4 separate regions of the Homo sapiens genome follow, and regions 1, 3 and 4 are each linked to region 2. Evidence: promoter capture Hi-C in 16 types of primary human blood cells and fetal thymus (Javierre and others, 2016). All regions are on one chromosome and are shown on one strand. The core of a region is centred on a gene start or on the middle of the fragment in contact, and the rest is flanking DNA. Distances in the headings are between cores, read along the strand shown. Region 1 overlaps INPP4A (inositol polyphosphate-4-phosphatase type I A). Region 2 holds the start of COX5B (cytochrome c oxidase subunit 5B). Region 3 has its middle 3.5 kb from the start of INPP4A. Region 4 overlaps CNGA3 (cyclic nucleotide gated channel subunit alpha 3).

What was found. The method cuts DNA at HindIII sites, captures the fragments that hold promoters and counts their contacts. A CHiCAGO score of 5 or more calls a contact.
Region 1: a contact is called between a fragment that was not itself captured here and the fragment with the promoter of COX5B in region 2, in 1 of 17 cell types (neutrophils). The highest score is 5.1, in neutrophils.
Region 3: a contact is called between a fragment that was not itself captured here and the fragment with the promoter of COX5B in region 2, in 2 of 17 cell types (neutrophils and fetal thymus). The highest score is 6.1, in neutrophils.
Region 4: a contact is called between a fragment that was not itself captured here and the fragment with the promoter of COX5B in region 2, in 2 of 17 cell types (total B cells and fetal thymus). The highest score is 6.6, in total B cells.

Annotation. Positions count from the first base shown.
Region 1 is chr2:98,461,598-98,466,695 of GRCh38, forward strand. The region is part of intron 1 of INPP4A (inositol polyphosphate-4-phosphatase type I A); the gene reads left to right. Among named protein-coding and RNA genes, the nearest start is that of INPP4A, 19 kb to the left of the region's middle. RefSeq lists enhancers at 1,697-2,212, 2,399-2,448, 3,699-3,838, 3,849-4,158, 4,257-4,821. The HindIII fragment of the contact is 1,937 bases long and covers 452-2,388 here.
Region 2 is chr2:97,643,585-97,648,178 of GRCh38, forward strand. It overlaps COX5B (cytochrome c oxidase subunit 5B), which reads left to right and starts at 2,478. Exons shown (of 4, transcript NM_001862.3): 1 at 2,478-2,605; 2 at 3,483-3,556; 3 at 3,760-3,859; 4 at 4,412-4,594. The coding sequence starts at 2,503. The coding sequence ends at 4,524. RefSeq lists enhancers at 1,436-2,370, 2,173-2,222, 2,403-2,582. The HindIII fragment of the contact is 14,381 bases long and covers 1-4,594 here.
Region 3 is chr2:98,438,942-98,443,786 of GRCh38, forward strand. No RefSeq gene overlaps it. Among named protein-coding and RNA genes, the nearest start is that of INPP4A, 3.5 kb to the right of the region's middle. The HindIII fragment of the contact is 723 bases long and covers 3,111-3,833 here.
Region 4 is chr2:98,383,792-98,388,346 of GRCh38, forward strand. The region is part of intron 5 of CNGA3 (cyclic nucleotide gated channel subunit alpha 3); the gene reads left to right. Among named protein-coding and RNA genes, the nearest start is that of CNGA3, 40 kb to the left of the region's middle. RefSeq lists enhancers at 1-170, 171-746 and a silencer at 4,307-4,494. The HindIII fragment of the contact is 559 bases long and covers 1,448-2,006 here.

The DNA of each region.
Region 1 (5,098 bases), core at 170-2,669, 820 kb after region 2:
TGTGGTAAAGCCTGTTTCCTACCCTATCCTCTAGCCATCCATGTCCCCTCCCTTAAGACACCAATGCCATGTGCTTGTTGGGTTTTTTTCTGAAGTTATGCTGTGTATATGCCAGCAGGCCTGCATGTGCAGACATGAGACAGTTTTCCACATCCCTGGTGCCATGCTGCGTGCTCGCTGTGTGCCTCTTCTGACGGTTTCACTGGCCCACAAGGAGTTTTGTGTTCCATTGTCCAGCTGCATGCTGGCCTGCTGCCAGGCTGTGCTGCAGATTCTTCAACCAGTGCTCTCTGGATGCCTGTTAGCTTCTTTCCAGCCTGTGCTTCACACTAATACGTTAGTTTTGTGAAGGAAGCTGCACCCCCCTTGCTCTGAGGTCTGGGCCTAGGCTCTGGCTGGATTGAGCATCATTCTAGCTGGAAAAAGAGGGTGGGGTTAGACGACGTGTTTAAGCTTCTGCCCGTTTATTTCAATTATGACCTGGCCTGTAGGGTTTTCTTTGGGAAATGGGCAGTTAATGGTTAGATACTATTTGTAAGGCACATGTCTCTAAAATATTACCTTCTAGTGGCCAGGCGTGGTGGCTCACGCCTATGATCCCAGCACTTTGGAAGGCCAAGGTGGGCGGATCATGAGGTCAGGACATCGAGACCATCCTGGCTAACACAGTGAAACCCCATCTCTACTAAAAATACAAAAAATTAGCTGGGCGTGGTGGCAGGCGCCTGTAGTCCTAGCTACTCAGGAGTCTGAGATAGGAGAATCGCTTGAACCCGGGAGGCAGAGGTTGCAGTGAGCCGAGATCGTGCCACTGCACTTTAGCCTGGGCAACAGATGGAGACTCTGTCTCAAAAATAAATAAATAAATAGATAAAAATAAAATAAAATATTACCTTCTAGTTACACACAGACCTTTTATTTTTTTAATTATTATTGTTTTTTTTTTGAGACAGGGTGTCACTCTGTCAACCAGACTGGAGTGTAGTGGCAGGATCATGGCTCACTGCAGCCTCTGCCTTCCAGGCTCAAGTGATCTTCCCACTTTAGCCTCCTGAGTAGCTGGGACTACAGGTGTATGCCACCATGCCTGGCTAATTTTTAATTTTTTTTTGTGGGTTTGGCTATGTTGCCTAGGCTGGTATTGAACTCCTGGGCTCAAGCAATCCACCTGCCTCAGCTTTTCAAAGTGCTGGGATTACTGGTGTGATCCACCATGTCCAGCCAACACACAGACATTTTATTTTTTATTTATTTTTAATTTTTAATTTTTTAAAATTTTTATTCAAGACAGAATCGTGCTCTGTTGCAATCTTGGCTCACTGCAACCTCCACCTCCCGGGTTCAAGCCATTCTCCTGCCTCAGCCTCCCAAGTGGCTGGGATTACAGGTGTGTGCCATCACATCCGGCTAATTTTTGTATTTTTAGTAGAAACGGGGTTTCACCATGTCGGCCAGGCTGGTCTTGAACTCCTGACCTCAGATGATCTGCCCGCCTCGGCCTCCGAAAGTGCTGGGATTACAGACGTGAGCCACCGCGCCCAGCCCACAGACATTTTAAACTAACCTGTAGCATCCTGAGTGAGGCTTGTCAAAGCTGCTTTTGACCCCAGTTTCAGGTACATTGGCTCTGTTGGGCTTTCCTCTGCCTGGCCTATCAAGCGGCCAACTCAAGCTGCAGGTGCAAGGGCAGATGGTTCTGCAGGGACCTTAATGACAGCCAGGCCCAGGAACACACAGTGCTTGTGTGGAAGTCTACATTTCAGCTGTGATGGTGTCTCGCTGAGGCTGGTTCTGGCCATGCCCTCCCAGCATTTCAGCTGTTCCAACCAAGGTGCTCTACATCTCAGAGGGAAGGCAACGGCCTGGGCAGCACGTTGCACGTACATTTTGGAGTCATGTTGGTTGGTGGTCTTCAGTTTCTGAATCTGTGATATGGCATGGTCATTCATCACAGGCGAGGTGATGCAAAGTTACCAACTGGGAGCACACCTGCCCCTTCTCATTCACTCACGCAGCAGGTAGTTTTCAGGCACAAAGGAATTGACTTGTGGAGCTGGCCCTGGGGTCTGTCTGTAGGAGAGCAGGAAGTAGTAGCCACCTGCGGAGGGCTCACAGGCATGTGCCTGCGAGACTGCTTACAAGCCCCTGTGCGGGATTTAGGGCAGACCAGAGCCATGAGCGTCCATGGTCAAGTGAAGGTCTGGTAGGTGTGAGCTGTTAGCCCTAGGGTCTGCTGCATGCGGTGCCAGGGGCTGAGGAATGCTGAGGCAGCTTTTCCTCCAGTCTCTGCTCGCTCCGTGCACAGCCCTTGTCTCCTGCCTGATAGTGGTCAGTAGTCAGTTGGCTTAGGGTACACGGTCTCCACCCAGTGAACCTGGCGCTGGCAGAAGCTTGTAGAAGAATGGGTGCAAAAAAGATATCTCAGAGGGCCTGCAGATGGCTGTTTTTAGGAAGTGAATAGGCTTCTTCTTTTTCTTCATTTTTTCTTTAAGATACTCTTGAGGTTTTGAGGCTCCACCCTGAGCTCTTTGTGGCTGAGGGCTGCTGTGGCTTGATGAAGGGGACAGTCTTCAAATCTTGCACAGGCTGGGGAAGGTTGGGACAGCACAGCCCTGAGTCTCGAACAAAATGGGGCAGAGGGGAGGGCAGGAGAGCCGTCAGATTCATGGGGCCACATCCTCGCAGCAACCCAGGGGAAGCTGAGGCCCCAGGGTCTGCATGATGGAGGCCGAGCACGACGGAGGAAGTGGAATTATTGCACATGGTGGGTTTCGACACTTGGGACTCGCTCCTCAAAGAGGAAAATCGAGAGTGGGGGTGCACAGAGCAAGGGCTGAAGAAACAAAAAGCAGGGGGTTTAGGGGAGAGATAAACCTCTTTGCATGAGTCAAGCTGAAAAGCAGTTTGGAAGGTCAAGTGCTAGCCAGTGTCTTTTTTTGCCTGCCCAGCCTCTTCTTCTGCCATGTCTGCCCTGACAGGGGCAGAGTTCTCAGTTCCCATGTCAGAACTCGGCACCAGCTTCTCTGTTGACAGTTGCAAGGCCTGTGGCTGAGAGAAGTACTTGTGCTGTGTTTCTGCAAGGTAAGATGGCCCTGATCACAGCTCATGATGCCTGAGATCAGGAGGGTCTGCTCCATGAGATATCAGCAGAGGCCATCCTGTGAAATATTTTAACTAATTGAACTGAATGTTGAAGACAAGGCCTGTGGCAGTGTTGTATTTATATGTGACAAGCCGAGAGTCCTTGGACAACCTTGGAAACTCCTTTTTAGGACAGAATCAACTGAGACGATACACACGAAGGAGCTTTTGTGAGCAGAGTACAGAGCTCGTTATTGCAGTACAAGGTTGTAGGTTTTCACACAGCTTTTGAGGATGGGTTGGTGGCCCAGGGAGGATGTCAGGAACTGTCCTTCACTAATGGGGATTCTCGAGTTCCTACCACGTGCCAGATAGCGTGCTGATTGCTTTGTATCCACTTCCCTTTTAATCCCTTGTATTAGCTTCCTGTGGTTGCTGTAACAAACTCGGTGGCTTAAAGCGAAAGGAACTTATTCTCTCACTGTTCTGGCCTCCAGAATCACTGGGCTGAATCAAGCTGTGGGCAAGGCCATGTTCCCTCCAGTAGCTTAGGGCGGAATCCATTCTGTGGCTGCTGGCTTGCCTCGGCTGCCGGCCCCTTCCTCATCTTCACACCAGCAGGGTAACATCTTCTCTCCGTGACTCCGCTTCTCTCTGCTTCTGTCACACGGCCCTCTCTTCTCTCCGAAATCTCCTGCCTTCATATAAGGACATTTGTGATGGCATTTGGGGCCTACCAGTGTAATCTAGGATAATCTCATCTCAAGATTCGAAACTTAATTGAGTCTGCAAATCCTTTGCTGTATAAGGTAACATTAATAGGTTCCAAGGATTTGAACGTGAACCTCTTTTGCAGGGGGCATTATTTGACCTGCCATACCTCACAGCAGCCTGATGAGGACCATACTGTCCCACATACAGTGGGCTTAATGAGGAAGCTGAGGCTTGGGGAGGCCTAGGGGTGGCCATGGTCCTTTCCTCTCCCAGACTCTGGGGTAGCTGACTCTGGGGTCATTTTGTCATGTTGCTGGGCACTCACTTGGTGAACAGATAATCCCCTGTCATTTTACTATGTTGTTACATGGGTTTGAAAAAAGAGTTTTTCAACTCTCTGGCTGAGCCCCTGTTCCTGTGAGGGCCTGTGGTTTTTCCTCCCGGCTCCACCCTGGTTTCGGCGCAGTACTTGAGCAGACGGTGGCTTGGGTCTCACTCTAGCGCCCTCCCCCTTCCTCTCTGGCTGTGTGCCCAGGCTGGCCCTGCCCACCTTGCTCAGTCTCTGCTCCATCTGCCACAAGTCTCACTCCAGCCCTCCCCCCAGTAGCTTAGGAAGGGACCTTCTTGTTACGTTTTTTGTTTTGTTTTGTTTTTTGTTTTTTTGTTTTTTTGAGATGGAGTCTCACTCTGTTGCCCAGGCTGGAATGCAGTGGCGTGATCTCTGCTCACTGCAACCTCTGTCTCCTGGATTCAAGCGATTCTCCTGCCTCAGCCTCTTGAGTAGCTGGGACTACAGGCGTACGCCACCATGCACAGCTAATTTTTGTATTTTTAATAGAGATGGGGTTTCACCATGTTGGCCAGGTTGGTCTTGAACTCTTGACCTCAAGCAATCTGCCCGCCTTGGCCTTCCAAAGTGCTGGGATTACAGGCGTGAGCCACCGTGCCCGGCCTTGTTATGTTTTTTAAGCTAACCCTGTAGAGCACTCACTGTGCACCAGCACCTGTTGGCTCAAGGGGGTGACAGACATTCCCTATCACAGATTACAATGAGTCACCGGCATTTTTGGAATTTCACTAAGCGTCGTTGCTGTGCTGTGCCTCAGCATGCAGCACTTCATTTAATCCTCTGGACACCTTGAATGATAAGTGTCTGTCATCCCATTTTACCCGTGAGAGAATTGCGGCTCAGAGAAGTTGTCACCCAGCTGGTTGGTGGCAGAGGTTTCAGAGGTCTTTCTGTGCATAAAACCCTCACTTATGGTTATGCCAGGTAGGCCTTGGAGGGGATAGACCCATCGCC
Region 2 (4,594 bases), core at 1,228-3,727:
ATTACAGGTGTGAGCCACCGCACCCAGCCTACAAAATATTTTTTAATGAAAGAAGCAACTAACTAAAACTTTGTATAGTAGTTATGTTTTTATATTTTATATTCATATATGCAGTGATGCTCAATGGGAATTTTGCAAATCCAGGGGGCATGTGGCAATGGCTGAAGATATTTTTGGTTATCATGTCAGGGAGGTGCTAATGACATAGGGTTAAATCCTACAATGCACAACCTCCCTCAAAGAATTATCAACCCAAGATGTCAGTTGTGCTGAGCTTGAGAAACTCTGTCATAGGGAAAGGAAAAAAAGGATAAGCACCAAACTGCTAGCTTGTTCCTTATATATCTGTGCTGTTCAACTTATAATGTACATTTATTTTGACAACTGAAAATTATCCTATAAAAATAAGTTTATTGTGCTGGCAAAGACAATGATAGAGCAGAGGTGGCAGACTGTTCCCCAAGCCAACTGTTTCCAAAGGAGACCTGAGGGACTGGGTGTGAGTTGACAGTGGTGGGAGCTGGAAGCAGCAAGGGATGCGGGGACATCTGGGGAGCCTGGACCTGACCTTGGAGCTCACTCACACAATCTAAATAATCCCAGAGTGAGGCTGAGGTTTTCCTGAGTTGGATGAGGGCCTGCGAAAATTTCCTATTATTAGGCAAGCCTACTATGAGAGTGAGAAGCCTAAACTCAATTTCCATTTTATAGCCTGGAGTAAACCACTTCTGGTCAGGCAGCAGGGAATCATAACATATCAGAGCTGAATACCTCACTGGTTTGCTGAGGGGCAAGTTAGTAGGTGTTCCTCAGAAAGGATTTTGTGGTCAATTAAGACAGGGAAACTCTGGCTTAAACTGCAGGTAAATTAAATAAGAGGTCTTTACTGCAAGCCTAATCAGAGCCTTTATTATGCTAGTGTCCATCTCCAAAAGGGTGGTCATCAAATGCAGGCCCTCCCTGTCTTGACCAAGTCCTTTTTCTTGAGATCATGTCTTGAGACTTGGATGCCATGCAATACACTTTGGGAAATACTAACCTAGTTGAACGACAGTTTTACTGATGTAGAAATGGCGGCCCAAAGGATAAAAAGTAGCTGAACTAGCTGGTGGGGCTACTTTCCAGACCAATGCTTTTTTCTCCTGCCTAAGACCTTAACCACAGTTGCAAATTAACTACAGATCCTCAGAATTTTCGCCCAATTCAACTTGGAGGGGTTGCAGTGGAGGTGAGGGAGAAGGGAGTAACAGTGAAGCCATTCAAAGCAAAAACCACCTTTAAAGAAATTTTGGCCTTAGAATACAGGGTTTTTTTTTTTTTTTTTTTAATTGGTGGAGGGGGCACCCAGGAAGACCAGACGTGCTCCTGTGAAGCAACGCTCCACCACGTCCTTTTGAAAATACCGTAGCCTGCATGAGACAGGCGGGAGCACCTAAGCCTTCAACTCTCCCCATGTTGCCTCCAATTGACCTCACTGGGCCAGGAAAAGCCCTATAAACTGGTTTTGTATACTCTATCCAAGTAGTAAATTTACTAAAATTACTGGATCCTACTATATACCAGACCTCTGCAAGGCATTGAAGATTCAATGATGAGCATTAATTCCCACTCTAAGGGGATTTTTCTATCTGGTAGGGAAACTCAGATACCGCATGCAGCTAGCCTGTCACAGGGCTATACTGACTAAAGCTCACCCTAAGAAATTTGCACATCTTAGCCTATGGGCAACGGGAAGCCATGGACGGAATATGTTTTCCGTTTCAAACAAGGAACTCCAGTCACAGCAGGCTCTAACTCCATTTCCTATTATCAACTCCCCTTCCTGCTCCTCCTCCCTTAGTAGCCTCGAAAAAGAGTGGCCACTTCCTTCACATCACCAGGGCCTTGGTCCTGGTAGGGGGTCCCGCCCCCGGCCCTGTCCTCCTCCCCAGGCCGGGACCTCCGCGCCTCCCACACACAGTACAACTCTAACACGAAACTGGGCCAGGACTGCAGGTAGGTCCCGTCCAATGCGACACGCTCGCGACGGCCCACGCACTGCCAGAACCAGCCCTGCCACTAACCAGCCTAGTAAGGAACGCAGTGATCTTTAGGAGCCCACTTCTAAATTCAAATCATTTGGGGTTCAGTAAGTCTCTTCACAGACGGGGACCTAATAGCTTCCATTAGCAGCCTCCACGTTTGCTGAACACGACTACGGGGCCAGACCCACAGGAACTCCAATGTGGTTCAGCCGCTCAACTCCAGGGACCAAAAAGACTTTCCCACCTCCCAGCGTTATTAAAGGCAACCCCGCCCCCAAGCCTCAGCCACTACGCGGTGCAGAAAGAGGCAGAGCTGGGCATGCGCAATTTCCGCCCCCGCCACAGTCTTGGGAGTGGGCGGGCTCGAGGGCTGGGAGGAAGCCGAAAGCTGACCGAGAGGAGAAAGAAGCCCGCCCCCGGAAGTCCCTCCTGTCTCTGCAGCTTGTTCCCGGAAGTTTTGCTGCTAGTCGCGGACGCAATGGCTTCAAGGTTACTTCGCGGAGCTGGAACGCTGGCCGCGCAGGCCCTGAGGGCTCGCGGCCCCAGTGGCGCGGCCGCGATGCGCTCCATGGCATCTGGAGGTACTCGGGTCTCCGGGCGTGCCAGGGACCAGAGTGTTGCCCTCCCAGGGTGGTCCCAGGGCGGCAAAGCGGCGCGGCTCGTGCAGCTTCTCGAGGTCCCAGTGGCCGCTTTACGGTCCCCAGTGCCTCAGGCTCTGCAGGCATCTCCCTGTAATTCTGGACCGCTGCTCCTGCCGCTCCCCGAACTCACTCCGCTGCGAAAGTATCCTAAACGGAGGTGCCGGGTGACCTTGGGAGGGACCGGGGCTGCCACCGGGATGGGGAGGGGTCCGGCCTCCCTTCAAACCTGCGCCCACCTCAAGCAGAGTGGGTTCTACATGCTTTTAGACAAATGTCGACAAATTTGCCTCGGTGGTTGGAGAAAGAAAAGCTCATAGGCCGGGCGCGGTGGCTCACAACTGTAATCCCAGCACTTTGGGAGGCCGAGGCGGACAGATCCCCTGAGGTCAGGAGCTCAAGACCAGCCTGGCCAACATGGTAAAACCCCGTTTCTACTAAAAATACAAAAATTAGCCGGGCGTGGTGGCGCGCGCCTGTAGTCCCAGCTACTCGGGAGGCTGAGGCAGGAGAATCGCTTAAACCCGGGAGGCGGAGGTTCCCGTGAGCCAACATCGCGCCATTGCACTCCAGCCTGGGCAACAAGAGCAAAACTCCGTCTCAAAAAAGAAAAAAAAAGCTCCCCCGAGTGCTGCCGCTTGTGTGGATGGGTACTTGGTGGTTCTTAGGGGACCATGGATATGAGTAGCCTTTAGGAGCTTGTGAGCCCGCTAAAACTTATACAGAAGTTTCGGGGCACCATTTTCCTTGATCATTTCTGTTTGTAGTTTTTCTATCAGTCATTTCAGTCAGCGTCATAATTCACGTTATCTTCCTTTAGGTGGTGTTCCCACTGATGAAGAGCAGGCGACTGGGTTGGAGAGGGAGATCATGCTGGCTGCAAAGAAGGGACTGGTAAGGAGAAACTCCCTTCTGTGTCTTCTGTGTAACTTATGGCCTTGGATGTGTTCATAGTGGTCTCCTCTCTGGGAGTATTTGATACAGGAAACTTGGCTTGTAGGAACAGTCCCCTGAGCTTCTGGAAGGTAGGGCTTATTTGGCCTAATGGTTCAATTCTTGTTTTTTTTGTTTTGTTTTGTTTTTTGTTTTTTCTTCAGGACCCATACAATGTACTGGCCCCAAAGGGAGCTTCAGGCACCAGGGAAGACCCTAATTTAGTCCCCTCCATCTCCAACAAGAGAATAGTAGGCTGCATCTGTAAGTACCTCACCTCTATTTTTTATCCACTTGCTTAATATATCCTACAATAGTGTGTAAGCTGCCTCAAATCTTCAGTGTGTGAGTGCATGTTGGTAAGTTTGTCTAAGGGTCTTGACACTCTCAAGCCTCATTATGCCTGATAGTTCATCCTTACTGGAAAGAAGCGCAGCACAGCGGTAAGACTGGCTCACTGGGAGTGCGGCATGAAGGAGTACCCACCCAGCAAATATTTATTGTTATACTGCTTCTATGCCAGGCATCATTTTAGACACTAGGGATACATACCAGAACGGACCCTGCTTTGCGTTCTACATAGGCAAGGGAATTGTTAGAATTTACAGTGACCTTGATACAAGGTCAGTTTACTCATAGGTGAACTCAGAGCCTCAATTTCTTCATCTGAAGAATGGGAGGAGGGCTTGAACTGATCTCTTAAGATATCAACCATAGTCTTACTTGTGTATCAGAGATGTCTGAGGAAAAGAAATTCATGTTGAAAGTCTCCCTTTCTAGGTTGGATGACCATAAACCACCTTTTTTCCCTTTTAGGTGAAGAGGACAATACCAGCGTCGTCTGGTTTTGGCTGCACAAAGGCGAGGCCCAGCGATGCCCCCGCTGTGGAGCCCATTACAAGCTGGTGCCCCAGCAGCTGGCACACTGAGCACCTGCACTAAATTACTCAAAATGTGCTGTAAAGTTTCTTCTTTCCAGTAAAGACTAGCCATTGCATT
Region 3 (4,845 bases), core at 2,222-4,721, 800 kb after region 2:
GTTTTGCTGAATATAGAATTCTAGGTCTGCTCTTCCTTCCGTTCCTTTTATTACTTTGAATGTGTCATCTTACTGCCTTCTGGTCTCTATGGTTTCTGGTGAGAAAACAGTTGTTAATTTTATTGAGGATTCTTTGTACATGAGGAGTTGCTTGTTTCTTGCTGCTTTCAAGAGTCTCTCCATCTTTGGTTTTAGATAGTTTGATTATGATGTATCTCAGTATGCTTCTCTTTGAGTTCATTTTAGTTGACAGTTTGATTATGATGTATCTCAGTATGCTTCTCTTTGAGTTCATTTTAGTTGGAGTTTGTTGAAATTTTTGGATTATAGATTAATTTTTAAATCAAATTTGGAAAGGTTTTAGTGAATATTTTTTTCTGCACTTTTATCTCCCTCCTCTCCTTCTGGTACTCCCAATTGGTACTAGATATATCTTAGCATACTTGATGGCGTCTACTGATCTCTTAGGCTCTGTTCATCTTTCTTCATTGATTTTTCCTATATGTTCCTCAGACTAGGCAGTATCCATGGACTTATCCTCAATTTTGCTAATTCTTCTGCCACTCAATCCTGCTATTGTCCCCCTATAATGGATTTTTCATTTCAGTTATTATACCTTTCAATTACAGAGTTTCTTTATATATAGTTATATAATTCCTATATCTTTAACTACACTCTCTTTTTGGTGAGATATTGTTCTCATACTTTCCTTTAATTTTTGACACATGGTTTCCATCAGTTCTTTGAACACATTTATAATAGCTAATTTTAGGTCTTCGTCTAGTAAGTCTACAATTTATGCATTTTTAATGACAGTCTGTTGACTGCCTTCCAGCCTGTGTCCTTTTCTGCCTGTTTATGTGTCTTACAACTTTTTGCTAAAATATAGACACTAAAAATAATGTAATGTGGCAACTCTGAAAACCATGTTTCCCTTTCCCCCAGGGTTTGCTGTTGTTACTGTTTTTATTTCTTTGATGCCTTTCTTGGACTAATTTTGTAAAGTCTGTATTCTTTGTCATCTGTAGTCACTGATACGTCACTGTAGCCATTTGTAGTCCTTACTCAGTTAGCTTAATTGTTCACTAATGATGAGAGAAATGCTCTATCATTCCTCAAATGCTAGAATCAAAGATTTTTTTTTCCTTTGTTTATGGTGGGACTATGTGTGCATATTAATGCATGCCTTCAATTTTCAGGCAGACAATTCACAGCTTTGCCTCAGCCTTCACATCCTGCTTGCTCAAAGCCTCACAGTTAGCCAGAAGTAAAACCTGGGCATTCTCAGATTTCCAGAAATATGTTAATCTTTTTTTTTTTTCTGTTAGATGAGATCTTGCTATGTTGCCCATAGCATAGTTGAGATCTTGCTATGTTGTCCAGTGGCTATTCACAGGTGCAATCATAACACACTACAGCCTCAAACTCCTGGGCTCGAGTGATCCTTCCACCTCAGCCTCCTGAGTAGCTGGGACCATAGGCATGTGCCACCAGGCAGCTTATGTTAAATCTTTTTAATGCCCCCTCCCCATGGACATCTCATTCTTCATTTTTCTTTTTCAAGTTTTTCAGTCAGCCTATTGTTAGCTGTAACTGGTGTCACTACCTGAGGCTGCTGTAATATTAAACAATTGTTACTGATTGTTTTCAACAATGCCCTGTGGAGAGGACCATTTGCACAGGGCAAGCTCTGAGTTATGCCAATTAAAGACAAACCCTGGGAATGTAGCTTTTCCAGGAAGCTGCCAGACAAGTAAATAGTGCCAAGACTCTGGGGATGGGGCTCTTTCAGGTGCTCCACATCCTTTTTGTCCCTCCAGTGGCTGCTAGACTGCTCTTATGGTTGCAGGGCTGTTGGTTTTCAAGGTTACACATACTCTTTCTTCTTCTTCTTCTTTTTTTTTTTTTTTGAGACAGGGTCTCACTTTGTTGCCCAGGCTCACTGCAACCCCTGCCTCCTGGGTTCAAGTGATTCTTGTGCCTTAACCTCCTGAGTAGCTGGGATTACAAGCATGCACCACTATGCCAGGCTAATTTTTATATTTCAAGTAGAGACAGGGTTTCATCATGTTGGCCAGGCTGGTCTCAAACTCCTGACCTCAAGTGATCCTCCCGCCTCAGCCTCCCCAAATGCTGAGATTACAGGTGGAGCCACCGTGCTCAGCCTCAAGGTTACACATATTCTATGTAGTCGTCCCTCAGTATCCATGGGAGATTGGTTCCAGGACCTCTGGTGGATATGAAAATCCATGGATGCTCATGTCCCTTATATAAAATGGGGTAGTTTTTTTCATATAACCTATGCACATCCTCCTGTATACTTTCAATCATCTCTAGATTACTTATAATACTTAATACAATGTAAATGTTATGTAAATCATTGTTATACTCTATTGTTTAAGGAATAATGACAAGAAAAAAAAGTCCATACAAGTTCAGTACAGATGCGATTTTTTTTTCCAGACATTTTTGATCTGTGATTTGGTTGAATCCATGGATGTGGAAACCATAGATTTGGATAGCTGACTGTATCCCTACAAAAATATCCTGTTAAATGGCCTGAAGATAAATTCTCATGTAGGATGGTTCTAGTCCTAAAGATAACACTGTTCACCTCTTAATTATTGTATGTAGATAATCTGAATCAGCTTGCAGCAGGTCGAGCCACAGACAAAACTCCTTGACACTGAGTTAAAGAAGGAAGGGGTTTATTCAGTCGGCAGCACCGGCAAGACTCCTGTCTCAAGAGCCAAGCTCCCTGAGTGAGCAATTCCTGTCCCTTTTAAGGGCTCACAACTCTAAGGGGGTCCGTGTGAGAGGGTCATGATCAATCGAGCAAGTAGGGGTACATGACTGGGGGCTGCATGCACGGGTAATCAGAATGGAACAGGACAGGACAGGGATTTTTACAATGCTTTTCCATACAATATCTGGAATCTATAGATAACATAACTGGTTAGGTCAGGGGTCAATCTTTAACTAGCAGGCCTAGGGCGCGGCGCTGGGCTGTCTGCCTGTGGATTTCATTTCTGCCTTTCAGTTTTTACTTCTTCTTTCTTTGGAGGCAGAAATTGGGCATAAGACAATATGAGGGGTGGTCCCCTCCCTTAAGCTTACTTATTGTATATAGATCATTTAAGTCAGTATGTTCATCAGAATCCCTTGGAGGGCTTGTTAAAATACAGGTCACTTGGCCCCACTTCTAGAGTTTCTGATTCAGCAGATCTGGGATGGGGTCTGGGAATTTGCATTTCTAGCAAGTTCTGGGAGGATGTTGATGTGACTGGTTAGGGACCCCATGTTGAGAACTTCTGAAGGACTGAGATACTTTACCACCAGCATACTTAGCTATCACATCGTGATGCTTAGGGAAGATATAGCATGATATTGTAAACCAAAAGGTGTCTGAGACAGATCTGTCAATTTAGAGGTTTATTTTGCCAAGGTTGAGGATGCAACTGGGAAAATGAGGCACAAACTACAGTAGGATCAGTAGGATCTGTGGCCTATGCTTTTTCCCAAGAGGGTTTTGGGGACTTCAATACTTAAAGAGGAAAAAGTGGGCAGGAGGGGAAAGAAGAACAGTGAATTATGCATTTTTACATAAGGTAAGTAAACAGAGAGTAGAGGAAGAGGTCAAATATGCATTTGTCTTGGGGTGGGTGGAAGGATGATTCCTCCGCTTGTCTTTGTCCCATTCCTGTGACGATAAGCTGTTAATTTACATTGTCAGGGTGAGGGAGGCCACCTGGGGAGATATGTGGCCTTCTATCTTGCAGCTATCTCTTTAGGAACAAAAGGAAGGCAGTTTTTTTTGCATGATTCAGTTCCCAAGCTTAGCTTTTCCCTTTGGAGTAGTGAGTTTGGGGGTCCCGAGATTTTATTTTCCTTTTACAGTATTAACTAACACATGGCTCCCTTTTCTCTTGATAATTTTCATTCTACGGTGGAATTAGGGCCTCATTCTTTGCCACACTGAAAATGTGATTGATCTTTGAAGATTATCCAGAATTACATAACAGTCAAGTGACAGATGTTATTGGAAGCTGATCCTCATTCAGTGTTACTGTACTAAATGAATGAATACTGAAATTAGACTGATATCTATTTTTAAATCTTTATAAATTTAATTTTTTTTTCTTTTTTAAAAGTTAGTGTTTAACAACTTTCTTAGCTTGATTATGACTGCCAGGCGTGGTGGCTCACGCCTGTAATTCCAGCACCTTGGGAGGCCGAGGCGGGTGGATCACCTGAGGTCAGGAGTTCAAGACCAGCCTGACCAACATGGAGAAACCCTGTCTCTACTAAAAATACAAATTTAGCCAGGGTGGTGGCACATGCCTGTAATCCCAGCTACTTGGGAGGCTGAGGCAGGAGAATTGCTTGAACCTGGGAGGCAGAGGTTGCGGTGAGCCGAGATCGCGCCATTGCATTCCAGCCTAGGCAAAAAGAGCGAAACTCCATCCCAAAAATAAATAAATAAACAGCATGGCCATAAAATTTATTGTTTGAACAGGAATACATTTGAGAGTGAAAGAGGGCCCTATTAATAATTTTGCTGCAAAAAGATGTAAACTGGGGCTGTTCCAAGCAAACTAATTGGTCACAGTAATTAAAAAAAATGCAAAAATATTTTTGCATTTCTACAAATTTGATTTTCTTGGCTTTAACTTTGTACTGTGGAGTCAAGGTTCTGTCAATATTTCTTTCCATTTAGCTGGAGAAATAATAAGAGGGAACTGTTTTATTACTAAGTTACTTTTCAGAAGAGAAATAAAATAAAAAGTAAAGAAATAAAAATTTAAAACTAGGACATTTTCTTTTTCTTTTTTCTTTTCTTTTCTT
Region 4 (4,555 bases), core at 477-2,976, 740 kb after region 2:
TCTCCTTAATGATGAAAAGGCATTTTCTTATTCTACAACCTCAGGCTCTTGAGTGCCAGTGAAATGCCCTTGTTTTTGCTGCTGTTGTTATTGTTGTTTGTTTGTTTGTTTTTGAGATGGAGTCTTGCTCTGTCACCCAGGCTGGAGTGCAGTGGCGCCATCTTGACTCGTTGCAAGCTCCGCCTCCCGGGTTCACGCCATTCTCCTGCTTCAGCTTCCCGAGTAGCTGGGACTACAGGCGCCCGCCACCACACCCGGCTAGTTTTTTTGTATTTTTAGTAGAGAGGGGGGGTTTCACCGTGTTAGCCAGGATGGTCTCGACCTCCTGACCTCGTGATCCACCCGCCTCGGCCTCCAAAGTGCTAGGATTACAGGCATGAGCCACTGCGCCTCGCCTGAAGTTCCCGTGTTTTAAGGCCAATTTGGGCCAATTTTGGGGGCGTAATCAGAGCAGTGGAAAAAGGCAATTTAAATATGTCCAGAGAATAGCCTCTTCAAAGGGTGACCTGCTATAATTCCTTTTTCCATCACCAGATACTAAGGTGGCAGATTAGGGACAGCGTGGCACTATTCAGGAGGGGAAGTCTTAGTTGGAGATTAGGGAAAAAATACCTATATCAGTGAGAAATGCCGATTTCTTGACTTCCAACAGACAGAGAAATGTGCCAAGGGTTTTTCTTGTTATTTCTCTCTTTGTTCCTCAGCTAGAACTTTTTTCTATTTTCTCCATGAAGGAAGCATGTCTTTTGTTTGCATAAATTTGGACATCAAATCCAGAGACCCAAATGCCAGCCATAACGAAAAATGAGATGATTTTATCTACAAAGCAATAGCTATAGTGATATGTGTTTGACTTAAAGCCAAACCTGACACTAAACACCCTTGCAGCTGCAGTATCAAGTCTTTCAGGCAGGGAACGGCTCCAGATACTGAAACCATGGACAGAGGTCCTGGGGGTTTCTAGGCATCTTTGTCCTGGGGCTGGGGTGTGGGCAAGGATGTGGGTGGATAGCGTGGGCTGCACCCGGCTCTTCAATCTTTCAATAAATGGGCTCACTTCACTGGTCCACTTTGAAGCCAAGGACCAAGGGACAAAACTGGGAACTATCCCAAAATGAGGACACACACAAAATAATTATTTATGAACACCTTCCCCGACTCTTCACTCCATTTCTGTCATTTTCATATGGTCTCATTTGTCCTGAATAATTTTTCCCTCCCCCATCAAACTGTTCCCAGCCAAAACCAGCAGCATTTTGCAGTTCTGTGTAGGGTTCTTTTGGGGCAGTGCTGGGTGGATTTGGGGATGCAGCCGATGGTGCTGGGTCTTTCCTAGGCTCTCAGCAGTTTGGTACCCAGACAGGCCAAGGCCCGTAATCCAGGGCCACAAATCTTGCACAAGGCAAGCTGAGTCCGGCGTAAACTGCAGGGCAAAGCTCACCCAAAAAGCTTGAGGGCAGCGCCGTCTGCTGGTGACTTGACGTTAAGACTCCAGTGCCTGAAAAGAGACCAGGGTTCACATCACCCTGGAGGACAGAGGAGGGGTAACTTTCCTTGCTCTTTTCATTTAATGATTTTAATAACCTTTTATTCTAATTCACTTTATTGAAATACTCTTGCTGAAAACTTGGAAAACAAGAAAAGCACACAGGGGCATACACACACAAAAACTGCACTTCATGCTAACCATGGAATTCCACTATCAGAGATAGCCCCACTTAACATGTTGACAAATATACTTCCAACTTCTTCCTAGGCATATATATTGAATACTTAGATTGATACAATATATTTTATATATACATATACTTGTTAAGAGCATCTGTTTCCCAACTCAGTTGCCTCAGAGCTTTGTGACCTTGGACAAGTGTATTAGTCCATTCTCACATTGCTAGAAAGAAATGCCTGAGACTCGGTAATTTATCAGAAAAGTGGTTTAATTGGCTTGAGGTACTGCAAGCTATACAGGAAGCATAGCAGCTTCTGCTTCTGGGGAGGCCTCAGGAAGCTTTCAATCATGGTGGAAGGCAAAGGGGGAGCAAGGAGTCTCAAACGGCAGGAGCAGGAGGAAGGTGGGGTAGGTGCCGTAAACAACCAGATCTCAAGAAAACTCACTCACTGTCTCAAGCAAAGCACCAAGGAATTGGTGCCAAACCATGAGAAATCCACCACCATGACAGGGACACAGATTCAAACCACATAAGCTGGTTACCTAACTTCTCTGTGTATCTGTTTCCTGGCTTATAAAATAAGGATTGTAATAGGGTCTTATTACATGGTGGGAGTGAAGACTGAATGTGTTACTCTGTGAAAAGTGCTCAGAACAGTGCCTGGTACATAGTAAGTGCTCAATAAATATTGACTTGTGTGGTAGGCAGAACAATCTCCCCCAAAAGATGTCTACCATCCTAATCCTTAGAACCTGTAAACAGGTTACCTCATATGGCAAAGGGAACTTCGTAAATGTGATTACATTCAAGGTCCTTGAGATAGGTAATGATTTGACTTGGCTGTGTCCCCACCCAAATCTCATCTTGAATTGTAGCTCCTCTAATTCCCATGTGTCGGGACAGATCTGGTGGGAGGTAATTGAATCATGGGGGTGGGTCTTTCCCATGCTGTGAATAAGTCTCACGAGATCTGATGGTTTTGTAAAGGGGAGTTCCCCTGCACAGACTCTTTGCGTGCCGCCACGTAAGATGTGACTTTGCTCCTCATCTGCCTTCCACCATGATTGCGAGGCCTCCCAAGCCATGTGGAACTGAGTCCATTAAACCTCTTTCCTTTATAAATTACCCACCCTCGGGTATGCCTTTATTAGCAGCATGAGAACAGACTAATACAGGTAGGTTATCCTGGATTATCAGGGTGGGCCCACTGTAATCACATGAGTCCTTAAAAGCAGAAGAGTGGGTCAGAGAAAGTAAATGGAAGAAGAAGAGAGTCACAGTGTGAGGGGGACTCGACCCATCACTGCTGGCTTTGAAGATGTAGGAAGGGGACCTGAGCTAAGGAAGCCACAGCCTCGAAAGGTGCAGCCAGCAGGGAAACAGGGATCTCAGCCCCACAATCGCAAGAAGCTGGATTCTGCGTAAGATCCAAACGAGCAGGAATCAGAGCCCCGCCTAGAGACTCTGGGGGATGGCAGCCCTGTCAACACCTTGATTTTAGTCTGGTGAGATCCACAGTAGACTTCTGACCTACAGATCTGCAAGATAATACATTTATGTTGTATAAGTTTGCAGTAATTTGTTCCGGCAGAAATAGAAAACTGATCCAGCTATTACGGTAAACTCTTTTGTAGTCTGCTTCTTAACTTAGCAAAATATTAGGAACCGTTTTCCCACGTCACTAGCTCTTCTGAAACAGCGTTTTAAGTGGCCATGTAGAATTCACCGTTGAGGATGAGCCTGCATGGTCGTGTGATTCGGTGGCTCTCCCTTTTTGATTGTCATGAATAATGGCAGTGATTATTTTTCCACACGTATCGCACACAGCCTTGATTATTTCCATAGGAAGTGTTAGGTAATTGTGAATGGATCTTTTTCAATGAGTGTTTAATTAGCAGAATTTATCTCTCAACCATGCCTTCCTTCAGCGTGTGGAAGAGAGAAATCAGAGGGGCCTGAAGGGGACTCGAGGGGTTGTCCCTTCCGCAACCTTTGTTTCTTCAACTATTCAATGGGGCATTACTGCCTGCCTTGAAGAAATTTACATGTATTCATTAGATAACTTTATAAGAGTTCCTAGCTCTTAAAAGACACCCAATAAAGAAGAGGCAGCAGTGTGAAGTCTTATGTTGAAGAAAAACCTGCAGTCACAGGACCATCCTGCGGACGCTGCCTGAACCGTCTCGCAGCCCAGCAAAGTCCGAAGGCGTGTCTGAACTCGGCCACATTTGCGAACCTGCGACCACACGTATTTGCCACTACATGCGTCACAGACCCGCCTCTTCGAATGTTGCTTCCCTTCTGCTCACTGGCTTTCTCATTAAGGCCCAGGTTTTCACTTGATCCAGAGAGAGGTTTCAAGAACAGCGGACAGGCCACACCCTTCCATTCAGAACGGAGAGCCTGGCGTGGGATTTCCAAAACTCCGAGTAACTTTCCCAACTTCAATGTGTGGATTTGGGTCTATGTCGTACTACCTCAAAACGTCTCCAGTCTCTGGCTGTTTGTGACTTCCCAGGAGCTCATGAAAATAGATCAGAAATTGTAGAACATTAGACTGAGCCACTAATTTCTCAATGTATACTCAATGGGGTGGTTTACCTCACGCTTCAGGAATAATAATAACAAATCAATAACCCCATTTCATCCCAATGCGCTGGAAGCACCCCTTGCCACGCCCTCTCTTCAGGACGTCTCCACGACGCCACACGCCACGCCCTCTCTCCGGGACGCAGCAGCCTGCCCCTTCCATTTGGTAATGTCCTTGATATATGAAGTCTGCTAAATGTGCCCCGGCATCATCCAGCAGCAAGGCAGAAAAGAACGAAGAGAAAAAAGAAGAGAGAAAAGCTACCTAAAACACGAGGAGGAAGTACTGAAGGAAG